Linked DNA regions of Homo sapiens: all the other regions are linked to region 2. The links are contacts of gene promoters, found by promoter capture Hi-C in blood cells and fetal thymus (Javierre and others, 2016). All regions are on one chromosome and are shown on one strand. Each heading gives the region's core, a stretch centred on a gene start or on the middle of the fragment in contact. The rest is flanking DNA. Distances are from core to core; before and after follow the strand shown. Region 1 overlaps ANO4 (anoctamin 4). Region 2 holds the start of UTP20 (UTP20 small subunit processome component). Region 3 overlaps GNPTAB (N-acetylglucosamine-1-phosphate transferase subunits alpha and beta).

What was found. Contacts are between HindIII fragments. The CHiCAGO score rates a contact against its expected background, and 5 or more counts as called.
Region 1: a contact is called between a fragment that was not itself captured here and the fragment with the promoter of UTP20 in region 2, in 3 of 17 cell types (endothelial precursors, M1 macrophages and M2 macrophages). The highest score is 7.9, in endothelial precursors.
Region 3: a fragment that was not itself captured here is called in contact with the fragment with the promoter of UTP20 in region 2 in 3 of 17 cell types (fetal thymus, naive CD4 T cells and total CD8 T cells); the score reaches 7.4 in fetal thymus.

What each region holds. Positions count from the first base shown.
Region 1 is chr12:100,825,470-100,828,884 of GRCh38, reverse strand. All of the region lies in intron 1 of ANO4 (anoctamin 4), which reads right to left. Among named protein-coding and RNA genes, the nearest start is that of ANO4, 32 kb to the right of the region's middle. The HindIII fragment of the contact is 1,586 bases long and covers 961-2,546 here.
Region 2 is chr12:101,277,903-101,281,404 of GRCh38, reverse strand. It overlaps UTP20 (UTP20 small subunit processome component), which reads right to left and starts at 1,300. Exons shown (of 62, transcript NM_014503.3): 1 at 1,078-1,300; 2 at 209-289. The coding sequence starts at 1,122. RefSeq lists enhancers at 1,227-1,276, 1,010-1,601. The HindIII fragment of the contact is 7,469 bases long and covers 1-1,560 here.
Region 3 is chr12:101,770,262-101,773,668 of GRCh38, reverse strand. GNPTAB (N-acetylglucosamine-1-phosphate transferase subunits alpha and beta) reads left to right here. Exons shown (of 21, transcript NM_024312.5): 8 at 2,512-2,673; 9 at 3,084-3,263. It also overlaps the pseudogene ST13P22. Among named protein-coding and RNA genes, the nearest start is that of SYCP3, 33 kb to the right of the region's middle. The HindIII fragment of the contact is 1,073 bases long and covers 1,621-2,693 here.

The DNA.
Region 1 (3,415 bases), core at 504-3,003, 450 kb after region 2:
CCATGCCCAGCTAAATTTTTTGTATTTTTAGTAGAGATGGGGTTTTACCATGTTGGCCAGGCTGGTCTCAAACTCCTGACCTCAAGTGATCCACCAGCCTCCCAAAGCTAAATTAAGGATTTGATAAGCTATATGAAGTTGGAGAGAAGAAGAATGTTATTCATATATGTATTTCTATCTCCACCTTCCACCCTTTGCTTTTATCTGATTCCTGCTTACCTCCTGGCAATGGATACTGGTATCCTCATCGCCTTTACAATCAATCACGTGTAAAAGATATAAAGAATAAGGTGGCACCGCATGGGCTATTATTTTCCTAAAGTGGCATGAAACTAAAAACTTGAAAAGATAGGGACTCATACGTGTAAATACTAGTCATTTTGAAAATCATTTTTCTTAAAATCTTTTTCCAACACCCACAGACAGAATCACTGAAAAGACTTTTACGCTTTTTAGCAAAGTGAAGAAATGCTAAAGGATGGGGAAAGCACTAGCAGAGACCCAGGGCCTTGACTCTCCCCGCATGAGTCACTGCCACTTGGAAAATAGGAATGAGGTTTCCATGATTAAACACAGTTCCTAAAAGCAAGAACCCAGATGCATCCAAAATACCCCTCTCCAATTGGGGAATGTGCTGAAAAAAGGAGGAATGGAGGAAATATTAAATAAATGTTAGTTTTACACAAAAGGCTAAAAAGAATACAAATAATGAAATGGTCTGAAGGTAGGTAGACCAGACTTCTTGCCAAGCCCAATGAGACAGTGGACCCTACTCTGAATATGAGTGTCTAGCATCCCCTAGTGGCTGGTGCACATTAATCAAAAAAAAATTTTTTAACAGGAGTATGTATCACAACCTTGTTTCTGGAACTAAGACTCTAGATATAACTTACCCCTATCCATTTGAAATGGTGTGAAGGGACACCCGTCGTAGCCCCACACCACTGAAAACCTTAAGCTTCCCCCCAACATATATATGTTAGAAATGGGGGTGAATAATGAAGGCCAGAAGCGTAGCATCAGGAGATCTCATGTGAGCTTTTTCCTGGGGACCCCAACAGCTCTAGAGCTTCAGCTAAAGGCCTCTGCATCTGCAATGGCTGGACTTCTTACCCATTTTAGCACCTCCAAATACAGAATCCTAACCATAAATCAAGCAATGCTAAAAATGCTTTTATTATCTAAAATAATAATCTGATAAATGATTATAATCTAATATATATATTTATATCATCAAATATTGACATTTATTTCCGCTAAAATCATTCATCTGTTAACATAATTCCATTCATTTAGTCAGCTGACAGATATTTATTGAGCTCCTACTATGCAGGCATTATTCTAGGCATAGCAGTAGACAAAACAGAAAAAATTCCTACTTTCATTGAGCCAACATCTTAGAGGGATAAAAAAACAACAAAGATACATTTAATTTAAAATATAAGCTGTTATGGGGGGGTATTTCTTTCTTTTTAACAAGTTTAAATAGAAAGACCAGGAAAAATATCAATGAAAAAGATATTTTTAAATAAAAACCTGAAGAAAGTAAGGACATTAGCTATGCATATAATGATGGAAGATCTGTATTGGCACAGGGAATCGCGAGTACAAAGGTCTTAAAGCAAAAACATAATTGGGTGTGTTCAAGGATCATCAAAAGGGCCTGTGTGGCTGAAATAGGGTACATGAGGAAGAGTCAAGAAGGCCAGATGATGTAAGAGCCATTATAAGGACTTTGTCTTTTACTATCTGACTAAAGCAGAAAGCCATCAGAGGATTTTCAGCAAGGGAGTAATAGGACCTGACATGTTTTACAAGACTACTCTGGTTACTATATAGAGAACAGGCTTTAAAAGTTGGCCTGGGGAAGTAGAAGGACATAAGTAGGACGGCCAGTTAGAAGTCCATTACAGGGAGAGATGATGGGGGCTCACACAAGGATGGCCACAGTGAGGTGGTGAAAACTGGTCGGATTCTGAATATATTTTAAAGGCAGACCTGACAGATGTGGGATGTGAAAAAAAGAGTGGAGTCAAGGATTATAAGAAGATTTCAGCCTCAGTAACAAAGGATGTAGTTGCCATTGACGGAGATGGAAGAGACTGCAGGAGGAACTGGTTTGGAGAAAAATAAAAGCTCAGTTTTAGCCAGGTTAAGTTTGGAGATCTCCACTGAGATCTCATACTTAGAAACTACAATAACTAGAAATGTTACTAATAAATTCACAAGTTGTATTTACAATTCAAGCACAGTGTAAGATAAAGGAACAGGGCCATTGCGGTTGGGAGGAGGAAACCATCCCTAGAATCTCCCAAACAGCAGGCCCTAGCAAGCAACGCTGGTCCAGTACCATGGACAGCACCCAACACGCTGGTATGGACCAAATACAAAAAGAAAAACACAGAAGGTGCTAGAAATAATACATCCATGAATACGGTTAGTGAAACTCAATGCATCAATATTAATGGATACCACTGGGCTTTTTGTAGACATTTTGTTAGCTGCATCCATCAAATCACTATTATATCACATCAAAAGAATAAGCTTAGTGAATCTTTTTCTGTGAGCAATGACCATTTTCCATCTTTTTTTCTCAATTCCATCTTCAAACATATTTATTTATCTGTCTTTAAACACAATTTCAGAAAATCTGCTTTCTGAATGTTTCCGTCTTTCATAATTTTTCATATTTCAATTTTTCACTCTGTTACACTGTCTTTTGCTTATAAATATTGCTCCTTTCCCACTAATCTACGTTCATTATAAAATACCACATCAACCACAAAAGAGCGGAGAAAAGTGCAACTAACTTGCCCATAATAAGAGCTTGGCTGAGTTATAAATAATTACATTTCTCTGGCTAATGATTTGATTGGTTCAAATTCCTCAGTGATGTGCATTCCCAAGCCAGTTGATTTTGGCAACAGCTTCTATAATAAAGTAATTTTGTGCAATTTAAACTTGTTATTTAAAAATTAATAGCTAACATATTATACATAATAACACTTAAATCCTCCATGGAAACATCAGAAAATGTCCAGTCAATAGGTTGCACATAATTGAAAACCCAAAATCACATAATTCCCTTTGTAAAAGCTGAAGATATATGCAGGAATATTTTTAATCATTTATCAAAATGGTATTAGTGTTAATTATGTGTAAATATGTTAATGTCCATAATTAAGTGTTCCAAATTTTCACACCAAGCTGGGATGCTAGTTACTGAAGACTAACTCAAGGTCTAACTTGGTCCAGAAGGGGCCGTCATATGTGAGGCCTGGACATCTTCCTAGTTCTTCTTACTACAGAATCAGTTATGTCTTATCTATCACAAAATGTCTGTTCTGCTCCTTAGACATTTGTGTCTAGTTAATTATATGACATGAGGCAGTGTGGTGCCATTTTGGATGTTGAA
Region 2 (3,502 bases), core at 51-2,550:
TATGTTAGCAACTAGCCACATTTGGGCACCCAAATTTTTAATTTACTTTAAATCCAATTTGTCATATGTGGCTACTGTATGAAACAGCACAGGTCTAAAGCATTTCATGTCCAAAAAGGAATACCTTGAAAAACAATTCACTTCTACTAACAGAAGAAACTAAAACACCATGAACACTTGAAGATTGACTAGTATCACATTCTCTTACCTCCTCATAGCTTGCAGTTCTATCAATCCGGTGAATAATATCAATATTAACATTCCCCAGTCGTTCAGCAAATGTAAGAAACTGGAAGGGAAAGTATATTTAAGATACATAATTAATTAAAATTTATCAGATCTTTAATATCTATTTGAATGCTGCATGTAGGCATCTCTAATCACAAAGGATAAGTGGAAAAATAAACTGAAAAACATACGGCCGTAAACAAATTTACTGCATCACTGTTCAAAGATAATGAATACTTCTATGTTTGCATAATTTCTCTCAGCTATGTCATTTCAAATAAAATTTCCATTGCCAGACTGGTGAGCCTAGGTGGATGCTGGCAATTAGTCTCGCTAGATCTATTAGGTTTCATACCCTCCCATAAGCATGGGGACCTAGCAAAGTCGCTGCAATAAAAGTGTTTTTAAACATATACAGACCTATGATTGTATCCTAAGGAAGACCTGGAAACAATCTATCAAGGGGCAAACAGAGAAAGCGCTGTATATTTGCCCTTAGCTGGGAATCACTCACCGCCAGCCGACTCGCCCAATTCGGTCTTTAAAGATAAAAGAGCAGGGGAGAATTGGTCCTAAGCAATCTCCTGGAATAGTGAATTTAATTCTGGACTACAGGAAATTCCCAGGACTGGCCAGACCCCATAAAACATGGGTGAAACTTGCTGTCCACACTTCTTTCCTCCTCCAACCCATGTTTACTACATCCAGTGTCTCCCTCTTTCGCCGGAGCCTCCAGGAAAGTGACACACTCGGCCCAGAAGTCTGAGGCCCCTGGAGTCTCGCTCAGAGCCTGTCTCACGACTGAGGCAGCGGAGACCCGCGGCTCCCTGCCTAAGCTCCCGCGCTCACCCGGTAGGTGTTCTCGGTCTTGTGGGAAACGGGCTTTGTCTTCATGGCTGCAGAGGGCCAGTGGCCCGCGACGGCCTCGGGAGTGTCGAAGGGATGCAACCGACAGTAAGGAGGGGAAAGCGGCTCACAGGCTATACTCTCCGATTCCCAGATGCCCAGACTTTCTCACGTGCGGCTTGAGCCCCTGGGCGCCGCCATGTTGGAGACAAGGAGGAGCCTGAGTGGGTCACGTGGACGGAAAAAAGAACGGCGCAGGCGCACCCTTTGGTGGGGTGGGGCCTACAGGAGGCGGGGCTGCGCACATAAGGGCGGGCGTTTGGGTGAGGTGTTCTTTTCACTCCCTTCGGTAAAGGTTTAGAAGACAAATGTATTTTCATTATAAAATAAAACATACCTGTAATCGTTATCAACTAACATTACTGTCCCTCACTACGTACCTGCATCGTGCAAAGATCCTTTCATCCATAATTTCACAGTAAAGCTTATTAGGGATGTTAATACAAAGGAGGTACTGCGTCTATCTATATATCTATATATAGATATATACTTTTTTTTTTTTTTTTTTGAGACGGAGTCTCACTCTGTCTCCCAGGCTGGAGGGCAGTGGCGCGATCTCGGCTCACTACAATCTCCGCCTCCCGGGTTCAAGCAGTTCTCCTGCCTCAGCGTCCAAAGTAGCTGGGACTACAGGCACCCGCCGCCACGCCCGGCTAATTCTTTTGTATTTTAGTAGAGACGGGGTTTCACCTTGTTGCCCAGGCTGGTCGCGAACTCCTGAGCTCAGGCAATCCGCCCGCCTCGGTTTTCCAAAGTGCTGGGATTACAGGTGTGAGCCACCGCGCCTGGCCGGTACTGTGTATATTTTTAAGCCAATTTGACACAAGAGGAAACCAAGGTTGTGCAGCTGGTAACTGGCAGTCTTCACTCAGACTCTAAATTTTGGTATTCTTAACCACTACGCTGTAAATAAAATTGAAAAATAGAGAAGGAGTTTTAAGAAAAATCTTTTAATTTCATGCACAACCGCTGTTAATGTTTGGTGTTTTTCCCATCACTTTAATGTCTACACATAGCATGTTGTTAAATTGTACAGTTATATATACATATATGTACAATTTTAAAAAATAATTTAAAAATATAATTATTTACCCCATTTTACATTCATTCATTCATTCAGCAACTATTTCTTGAGAGTCCTCTGTGGACCAGGTACTGTTCTGGGAGCCAAACGAGAAAGGCAATAATAGTATTAATTAATTATTTGAAAATATTCACAGCCTTCAATTCCTGGGCTAAAGTGAGCCTCCCACCTCAGCCTCCCAAGTAGCTAGGGCTACAGGCATGCACCACCACACCCAGCTCTTTTATTATTATTATTATTATTATTATTATTATTATTATTATTTGTAGAGATGGGATCTTGCTATATTGCCCAGGCTGGTATCAAACTTCTGGACTCAAGCAGTCCTCTTGGCTTGGCCTCCCAAAGTGCTGGGATTACAGGGGTGAGCCACCATGCCCAGACTGGAAATACTTGGTCTGAGATGCTTACATTTTAGTCAAGGAGTGATGTTAAGTAGACAATTGGATATATTGTTGTACAGAGCTCACTGTAGCAGTCTGGGCTGCAGACGTGACTTAAATACACCTAAATACCTCAAGTGTGAGGCATTTGCGACTGGGAAAGAGAGCCAGTAAGGTAGAAACAGACTAGTTATGGCATGGAAGCAGAGCTGGTGGCCAACTATACTGCAAATTCGAGGATAGAGAAGTGGTTGCTGGATCTGACAAGGTGAAGGTCACTGGTGACCTTGCTAAGTACAGTCTAGTTGGAAGAAAGGAAGTGAAATATGCATGGATTGAGGAGGTAATCAGAGTTGAGAAAGTGAACATAACACTTTCAAATTGTTATTGGCATTATCACATCAACATTTTCTGTGTCACCACAGGGTTGTTCTAAATATTTTAATGCCTCCATAGCATTTATAGATTTTTTTATAATAAAATATTGACGTGCCTAATGTTCCATTGGCTTTCAGTAGGCTAATAATTGGTCTTTTTTTTTTAAAAGCCTTTTATGGGTCACAGGGAAATCTAAGAAAGCTGTAGAACTTCTCCCAGAAAGATGCAAAGAAGCTCATCCACACTAAAATGTGCACGTTTCAGAGAGTTAGAAGCCTGCAGTTAACTGAGGGTAGAAGCCCCCACTCAAAGCAATATTTTCCCAACCTGTTGCCAAAATCACCCCCACATCATTGTGCCATTTTCCTTCTCTGCAATTTATTTTTGGTAATGGAGTTAACTGGACAATAAGGAGTGAAGAGAAAAATCAAAGAAACTGAAAGAACTGACACAAGTTATATTGACCATTTATTGTTTGCATTGTTCTTCATTACATGACCCTCACACACTGACTTGACTCTGA
Region 3 (3,407 bases), core at 908-3,407, 490 kb before region 2:
CTCTTTCCGAATTATTGTATAGTTACTATAGACAAACCTCTTCTTGCTCTTTTATGCATATATAATTAGAAACCAACCCTAGGCACTAAAAAGAATAGTTTTAGTGATATACCTTCTTATCAAACAAAGAGCCAACACAAGTTATGAAATTAAACTAGACACACCCCTTCTTCGAGGTTACGCCAAGCCAGTGCCTGGGCCTGAAACTGGCCTGCAGCCCCTCAGCTTCGCCCACTGCCTTCCGACCCTGGACCTTCGCAAAGTGAACGAGCTTCGGGACTTCGTGAAAATGTATAAGCAGGATCCGAGCATTCTGCATACCAAGGAAATGTGCTTTCTGAGGGAGCAGGTGGAGAGCATGGGGGGTGAAGTACCATGTGCTACTCAGAAAGCTATTATAAATCAGAAGAAAATATCAAGGAATTAAAAACAGGTAGTAAGAAGGTGGAGGAAAACATAAGCACAGACGAACTATCAAGTGAGGAAAGTGATCTAGAAATTGATAACGAAGCTGTGATTGAACCAGACACTGATTCCCCTCAAGAAATGGGAGATGGAGGTCAGGCCTGGTGGCTTACGCCTGTAATCCCAGCACTTTGGGAGGCCGAGGCGGGCAGATTGTATGTCAGGAGACCAGCCTGGCCAATGTGATGAAATCCTGCCTCTACTAAAAATACAAAAAATATTAGCTGGGCATGGTGGTGCTTGCCTGTAATCCCAGCTACTCGGGAGTCTGAGGCAGGAGAATCACTTGAACCCGGGAGATGGAGGTTGCAGTGAGCCGAGATCACATCACTGCACTCCAGCCTGCACGACAGAGTCAGACTCCGTCTCAAAAAATAGAAATAAAAATAAGTAAATAAATTGTTCTAGAATAGTGACTTTTTCTCTCCAGGGAGCCCTCAGAAATGCTTTGGGGGTGCTGTGAGAGGGAGGAAAGGGACAGGAAAGGCCAGAGGGTAGACAGGGACCCAGGCAGACTACTAATCCCCCTGTGTGGCCTGCCTCCCAGCACCCGGCACATATGCTGAGGCAAGTTGGTGACTCAGTGAGAACCAACTTAGTGAGTACTAAATATGTGCCAGGCACTCACTAAGTAAAAGAGGTGAAAGTGGTGAGTCAGGAAGACAGTTACATGCATCTGCAGGTGCTCACACATGCACCTGCACCTAATCTGTGAGAAGAGTTAATGGCCTACATCATAAGGGGAAAAGATATAAATGAAATTTCTAACTCTCACCTCTGGTGTTCTGGACTACATACGCTCAGGAAACTGCTTAGAAAATGAGCTAAGAATAGTCATGCAGCAAATAGAAGAGCTCAGAATAAGCTCATAATAAAATTTGTGTTTGCTTTGTTTTATAGATTGAGAAAGAAGACCGTAAGCTCTTTTAGAAGCACTAGTTCAGCAGAAGGATTTTACTGTCCTACATTTGTGGTTTTCAGGCCTCTCCCCTTTTCCTGAGTGATGAAAGCCTCTTCATAGGAAGTTGTGTGATACAGAGTCAGAACAGAAAACAGATAAAGAGTGGTGTGGACTTTCGTAGGGGTGGCAAAGCCTGTTTGTGGAACTTGATGTTTGTGATGTTCACGCTTAGATTTATGATTGCCCCAAAAGCTTTGCCCCAAAAGGTAGTTTTCCCATGGAAGCACTTCAGGCAGTCCTGCCGAAGGTGCTCCTCCCAGGCACGTGGCACAAAAGCTGTTCAGACACCCCACTAGCAGATGTACTTGTCACCAATTCCAGCAAGGTTAATTACATTGCAGATTTTTTGCCCAATATAAGCAGATTGGTAATATTCTAGAAGAAAAGTCACAGAACTGTTGGCCAGCAGGTGTACTTGCAAAGAAGTCAAAAATCATTTGAGCCAACATTGAAAAATTGGGGAGATTTCATACAACAGTTGGGGATTCTTGCCTCTCAGGAGATCTGGCAGCACTTGGTGCCATTGAGTGGTTGCAGCTCTCAGATGGCTCTGAGGTGTCCAGTTTGCCACTGCCTTTACCATTCCTTCTTGTTTTTAGACGCCTATTTTTTTAACATTCATTTGGGAAATGCATCTGGTCTGTGTAGGTCTTTTTGTTGTGTTTTGATATTGTCTTACCATTTCAAGATTAAAGATCAGGCCAGTTGCAGTGGCTCACGCCTGTAATCCCAGCACTTTGGGAGGCCAAGGCAGGTGGATCACCTGAGGTCAGGAGTTGGAGACCAGCGTGGCCAACATGGTGAAACCCTGTCTCTACTAAAAGTACAAAAGTTTGCCGGGCGTGATGATGCAGTCCTGTAGTCCCAGCTACTCAGGAGGCTGAGGCAGGAGAATCGCTTGAACCCGGGAGGCGGAGGTTGAGGTGAGCAGAGATCGTGCCACTGCGCTCCAGCCTGGCGACAGAGCGAGACTGTGTCTCAAAAAAAAAAAAAAAAGGAAAGATTAAAGAGCAGAGTGGGAATTTAAAGGTGCTTCATCCTTGAGATTCAGTCTTTTCATGTGTAATCCTCTTGTTATTTGATAGTTGCAGTTGTATTCAGAGGCCAGTGTAGCGCTTCTAAAACTGAATAACCCCAAGGATTTTCAAGAATTGAATAAGCAAACTAAGAAGAACATGACCATTGATGGAAAAGAACTGACCATAAGTCCTGCATATTTATTATGGGATCTGAGCGCCATCAGCCAGGTAAGGGATGCACAGAAGCTTTTACAGCCCAAATCAAAGGTTAAGATGTTAAAAATGTGTAAGTTACTATATTAGAAGAGGGAAGGGGACTTACAGAGAGGTGAGTTGATTGGAATTTTTCTAATTTTTCAGTCACTGCCATTGGTTTGGTATTAACTGAAGTCACCTAGAATCAGATCCAAGAACCTTCTTCATAAAGTGTGTTATAGAAATGCTGTCTCTTTGAATTTTGGGTTTAAAAATATATATACTGAATCTTTTGCATTTTTTGTAATGTTTAAAATTAGGACTCCATCTTTAAAAGTCTGCCAGAGCACCTTGAGAGCAGACGGGCAGAAGGAAAGGACAAAGAGGAGGAGGTATGACTTAAGGGGTATTTCACATCTTCATATGCCAAGTGTTTTTCTCAGTCTAAGCAGGATGAAGACATCTCTGCCAGTCGTTTTGAAGATAACGAAGAACTGAGGTACTCATTGCGATCTATCGAGAGGCATGCACCATGGGTTCGGAATATTTTCATTGTCACCAACGGGCAGATTCCATCCTGGCTGAACCTTGACAATCCTCGAGTGACAATAGTAACACACCAGGTACAGGACTTTCTAAAAATTACAAGACTGTGATTTCTAATTCTGCTCTTTTAGTGTGGTACAGGGATTTCCATAATTTCATTCCCTTTACCCTTCTACCTCCATTTCTTCCTTTCTCTAGCTCTTCATTGCCTTCCCTTCCTT